2 separate regions of the Homo sapiens genome follow, and region 2 is linked to region 1. The links are contacts of gene promoters, found by promoter capture Hi-C in blood cells and fetal thymus (Javierre and others, 2016). All regions are on one chromosome and are shown on one strand. Each heading gives the region's core, a stretch centred on a gene start or on the middle of the fragment in contact. The rest is flanking DNA. Distances are from core to core; before and after follow the strand shown.

What was found. The method cuts DNA at HindIII sites, captures the fragments that hold promoters and counts their contacts. A CHiCAGO score of 5 or more calls a contact.
Region 2: a contact is called between a fragment that was not itself captured here and the fragment with the promoter of PRKCE in region 1, in 1 of 17 cell types (total B cells). The highest score is 5.2, in total B cells.

The regions. Positions count from the first base shown.
Region 1 is chr2:45,650,158-45,653,113 of GRCh38, forward strand. It overlaps PRKCE (protein kinase C epsilon), which reads left to right and starts at 1,518. Exons shown (of 15, transcript NM_005400.3): 1 at 1,518-2,291. The coding sequence starts at 1,944. LOC102724965 (a long non-coding RNA gene) reads right to left here and starts at 1,058. Exons shown (of 2, transcript XR_005647119.2): 1 at 1-1,058. RefSeq lists silencers at 1-47, 678-777, 948-1,417 and enhancers at 793-1,087, 1,576-2,196. The HindIII fragment of the contact is 7,889 bases long and covers 1-2,956 here.
Region 2 is chr2:45,972,937-45,975,687 of GRCh38, forward strand. The region is part of intron 2 of PRKCE (protein kinase C epsilon); the gene reads left to right. Among named protein-coding and RNA genes, the nearest start is that of PRKCE-AS1, 300 kb to the left of the region's middle. RefSeq lists enhancers at 508-1,057, 2,019-2,068. The HindIII fragment of the contact is 3,479 bases long and covers 1-2,751 here.

The DNA of each region.
Region 1 (2,956 bases), core at 268-2,767:
AGTCCCTCGCCGGCCGCCGGCCCGGTCCCGGCTCCCAGCCGAGGAAATTTTTCCCCAGCAGCCCAGGGCTCTCCTCACGTGACCAGCCGCGGCGGTAGCTTCCAGCGAGAGTTTAAAGGTTACGGAGGAAATTAGCAAGGACACAGCCACTCGCCCCCCGGAGGGCGCGCCCCATTTTCCCGCAGCCCGGACGGCGGCTGTCAGCGCGCTGATCAGTGCCGAAGTCCCCCAAAGGGGCACCGATAAGGACCAGCGCAAACAGGAACAGTCACTTTGCAAAAAATAAGCAGACCACAAACCAAGCCGGGGCTCTACCGAGCTTTCACTTGTCAACAAGTTCTCGCAGCCTGCGAAGTCCAGGACAGATCCCAAAGGGGAGAATGTCCCCAAAGAAAGGCAAGAGAGAAGAACAGAGTTTAAAACTTCACCCGAGCCATGCTTGTCCCTCCCCCTTCCCCCTCCCCCACCGCCGTGGATCACAGCGTCCCGGGACAGAGTGACAGATGGGCCAGAACTCCGCAGACTGCTCCTGCCCGCCGCGGCCCGAGTGGGGGTGGGCAAGGGAAGGGTCCCGAGGCCTCTAGGGCAACAGGGCCCCCTCCACTCCCCCATCCCCGGCTCTAAAAGACAGTGTTGGCCGCAGGGTCCCCGAGAGATACGCGGCCCGGCGGGGCCCATCCATGGCCATCCACGGCCCCCGGCACGCGCATCCAGCCCAGCGCCGCCGCACCCCGGGGTCCCGCGCGGGGTCCCCGCCCCCCGGCTGACCCGCCCGCCGCTGCGACCCCGGGCAGCCTCGCCAGCTCTCCACCGTTGTCTCCTCGGCTCACTTTTTCCGTATTGCTCCCCCAACCGGCAAAACTTTCTATTTCCCCAAACACTGCCGTGCGCGCGCGCGCGTGCACACACACACACTCACACACACACACTCACACACACTGACGTCTTTTGCGCATTTCCTGCATTAGAGGGAGGGAGACTCGCTCGCACACCGACAGAGGGAGAGGAGACCGCGGGGGAGCGCGGGCTGGCGGGCGGCGAGCGAGCGGCAGCCGAGAGCGGGGACGCGGGGAGCGCGGAGGGCGGGCGCCGGCGCCCAGGAGGTGGGGCCGCGCTGAGTCGCAGTCCCTGCCCCGCCGCCGCGCTGCGCACCGCCCGGTGCTGGCCTGCGCCCCCGAGCCGGATCGGCGGCCGCCCGGACTCCGAGCCCGCGCGGATGTGAGATTCCGGGCTCCTGGCGCCTCCCGATCGCCGGCTCCGGCGCGGCGCTGCTTCGCCCAGGAGGCGGCGGCCCCGGCTGGCCGTGGGGCTTGTGGATTTTTAAAAATTTGGCTCCGAGGAGGACCATTTCCTCTCGACATGCATCCCTCCGGATAGACTGAACATCCCTCCGTTCACCCCCCCGCCCCGCGCGGTCAGAGGCAGGCGCTGAGTGTGCGAAGAGGATCCGGGTTGAAATCTGCGCCCCCGGTTCTCGTCCCCGCCCCGTCCCACCGCCCCATCCCCCTCCCGGAGTCGAAATTTCCCGGGATTATGTTTCGGAAAGGTAGGTAAGCGCCGGGCGCGGCGCCCGCTTTCCCGCAGTCCGGAGCCGGAGAGCCAGCGAGGCGGCGAGGCAGCCCCCGCGGCTTGCAGCGGAGCCGACAGCTCGTCTTCTCTTCTGGAGGTGCAGCTGGTGGTCGGGGGGAGAGACTTGCTCCAAACACGGACATCCCCCAGCTCTCCCCCCTCCCTGTTTTCCGTTAGGAACCCGGCGAGGAAATACATGCACTGGCTGAGAATCGCCCGCGCCAGGGCGCAACGCCACAAGGTGTAGGGAGTGTGCGGGGTGGGGCGAAAGGGGACCCAAGAGTCCCTGTGGCTCGGAGTGCCGGGCCGTCGGTTCTTCATTCCTGCCCTCGGGGCAGACGGAGTGACCCCGGCCCCCACTCCCCGCCCCGACCATGGTAGTGTTCAATGGCCTTCTTAAGATCAAAATCTGCGAGGCCGTGAGCTTGAAGCCCACAGCCTGGTCGCTGCGCCATGCGGTGGGACCCCGGCCGCAGACTTTCCTTCTCGACCCCTACATTGCCCTCAATGTGGACGACTCGCGCATCGGCCAAACGGCCACCAAGCAGAAGACCAACAGCCCGGCCTGGCACGACGAGTTCGTCACCGATGTGTGCAACGGACGCAAGATCGAGCTGGCTGTCTTTCACGATGCCCCCATAGGCTACGACGACTTCGTGGCCAACTGCACCATCCAGTTTGAGGAGCTGCTGCAGAACGGGAGCCGCCACTTCGAGGACTGGGTGAGTGCGGCGCCTCCCCGTCATTCCGGGAACCCGGTTGTGGGGTCCCGGGGAAAGACTCGCTGGTCTTGATCGTAGGGCTCCGGGACTTATTGACGACTGGGGTGTGTGTGCCTGTAAGTCTCAGTTTCCTTGGGGAGGTACACTTCACTTCATAGTTGGGGAGAAACAGGCATTGGCGAGGAAGATGAGACTTGGAAAGAGGATGTGGCCCTCTGCTCCCTCTGTGCCCTCCAGTTGGTGGGTGCTGCGGGAGGTTTGCAAACTGGGAGAGCCTGGGCCACTGGTGCTGAAGGTTGGCCGAGGACCCGGCTTTCTTCCGCAGGCGCGTGGTGGGCTGGCTGTGTGTGATTGTGTGTGGGTGGGTCCCTCCGTCCTTGGAAAGGCACGTGGAGCCTTTGACTGAAGGCTTCTTGCACGTCCTGGCTTTGTCCTGCTTAGCCGAGCGAGGAGTTGCTTTATTTTTCCCTCCGAGAGGAAGCTGGCTTGTTTCTATTCTCTTGCATGGTGGTTAGCTCATCTTCTGACATACAAGTAGAAAAAATGTGTTCTCCTCCAGGATGTCTCCTCTATGGTCCCAGAAACATCAGTCGAGCTTGTTTTGTCCAATTCATTGCCCATCCATGCAGAATGAATGTTGCATTTTAAGAAGGGTTCTGCTTGTG
Region 2 (2,751 bases), core at 9-2,508, 320 kb after region 1:
AACAGCCAAAGCAATTCTGAGTTAAAAGAACAAAGATGGAAGCATCACATTTCCTGATTTCAAAATATATTACAAAAATTCAGCAATTAAAACAGTGTGGTACTGGCATAAAAACAGACATATAGACGAGTGGAACAAAATAGAGAGCCCAGAATTAAGTTAATACATATGTGGGATCTACATTTTGGAAGAGACCTTTCATAGCGGAGGGAAATGCTGAAGGGATCCGTTTCTGGTGGTGGACTCCAGGCCCCAGTAGGGAGGTTCTTGGGGACTGAGGGACCTAGTAGCTCCCCTTTTCACATTGTATAGGCCACTTTCTTCTCCACCTGTGGGTGACAGTGCTGAGGATACTCTGGCCTGACCCGTGGCTTTCCTGCCCAGAGGAATGTGGAATTGGGGTGTTTTCAGCAGCCACAGGCTCCAACCCCTTTCTCCTGTCACCTGCTTTGTAGCTTTGCACACAAGCCTCACTTGAAGCATGAAGTTTACCCATGTTCTTTCCCTCCTGTGACCTTCTGTTTTTCCATATCTGACATCAAATCTGACTTAAAAGGCAGTGCAGATGCTCCTTTGGGGCAATAGTAATAGAAACCTTGGAGGAAGTTGAACTTAGAACTCTGACTTACAGGAGTTATCCTTGGCTGTCTGCCTAGCCTGTGCCTGAGACTCCCCCTCCACACCCCTGCCAACTTTAAACAGCTTCCCTCCAGGTATCAGGGCACCCCGCTGAGACAGCTTTGAAATGAATAGAGTCAAATTAATTGGTTGCCATATTGCCCTATTGGATTGATGTCAACACAGTTTAGAACGATTGGTTTCATTGCTCGTCATTTCTGTAAAAAGTTGGGAAATAAGACTCTTAGGAAGGACTGTAACCACCGTCATAACAGTGTTCCTTTGAGAAAATTAGATTGGACCCATCACCATTTTAACTGAAAATAGTTTCCCAGGATGAAAACAACTAGTCAATTTGAGAGATTTGTAAATCAAATTGCATCTTAAATGCATTAGGAGACGGGCTTACTGTTCAAATGTATTCCGTGGTGAATCCTGTGAAAGGAGTTAAGGGTGCTCTTTTACGAAAATAACCTGCATCCTGTGTCCTATGATGCCCAGGATGATGTTTCTGGATTGGATTTTTGTAGGTAAGTTTGTAGCAAGTAAGGGCTACTGAATAGATTTGGTTTTTGGTTGTCATATTTTTGTTCTTGCTTATGAAAATAGTAGAACATTCTACACATTGTGAAAGTATGAAGCGAAACAAAAACTTGCCTATGATGGCAGCACCGAATGGTGATTGCCATACTTCTGCAGCTGTGTGTGTTGCTGTCTCTATACTAGAACAGACCTGGGTCCTCCCGTGAGAATTTGGTCAGCAGGTCAAGACCCCTAGGTTGGAGCAGGGTAGGAGGTGGTGAGCTTTCTGTACCCAGAAGGTCGGTGATGCCAGAGACTTTTTGAAACAATAAGCACCAATTGAAACCCAGGTGGGCTAGGGGTCAAGAAGCAAGGGGATCCACAAGCAGACCTCCACCCGGGTCATCTGAGCCTGTGTTGAAGATGCAGTCTGGGAACGCTGAGGGCAGATTTCCAATAAACAGCTGCCTGTTTGCTCAGAGGCTGCTGCGTCCTTGGAAGCACACGCTGCGCATTTGGTCCTGTTCTCACCTTTTACCTCCTTCAATTTTACCTTCCCTCTACCCTACCCTCCAATAACAAGATGCCCTTGGATTAATCTGTTGTTCAGGTCATACATATGACCTCCACTTCAGGGAACCTTACATTCAGAGAGGTCCAGGAGGGATCAATGCTTCTTCCCCTGAAGACTGGCCCTGTTATGGTGAGATGTCAGGCACTCGCTGATGCCTGGAGATATTTGGGGGCACAGAGCCTTCCAGTGCATTTTAAGCTGACCTGTGCAGGGGACCTTCTAGGAGACCTTCTAGAAGGTGTCAGAAACCTAGGAAGAAGCCCAAAGCCTGCCCACTGTGTTCTTGGGGAAGCCACAGGCAGCTGGACTCTTTGGTGATGAAAGCCACTCAGATGAGAGCTTGGGGACTTTCTGTAAGGAGTGCAGGCCGTCCTTCAGAGCAGCGTGTGGGTGGAGGAACAATGGCCTCTTTCTCACTCTCTGGGTTAGAATCTGGGCTTCCCCACTGAGTAGCTGTGTTAACAGGAGTAGGTTACTTAAACTCTATTCTTCGCTTTGCATACCTGTAAAATGGGGCTAATAGCAGTACCCTTCAAGTGGAGTTGTTTCGAGGGTTCATTGAGATGTATTGTATCACTAAGATATAACACACTTAGCATAGCACTTGCCAGAGCGTAAGCCCACGATAAACATTTATCATGGTCATCCTTGTCTTAATCAGCTCAGACTGCAATAACAAAATACCAAAGACTGGGTGTCTTAACCAACAGACATTCACTTCTCACAGTTTTGGAAGGTGGACATCCAAGATCAGGGAGCCAGTATGGGTGGGATCTGCTGAGGGCCCTCTTCCTTGCTCACATGACAGAGAGCTCACTCACTCAGGTCTCTTCCTCCTCTTATAAGGACACTAATCCCATCATGGAGGCTCAACCCTCACGACCTCATCTAAACCTAATTACCTCCCAAAGGTCCCATCTCCAAATAGCATCACTTTGGGGGTTAAGACTTTAATGTATTAATTTTGAGGGGGCAAAAATATGTAGCCCATAACAATTATCTTTATTATTTTTGTGATCATCTGTGAGTCCCCTTGC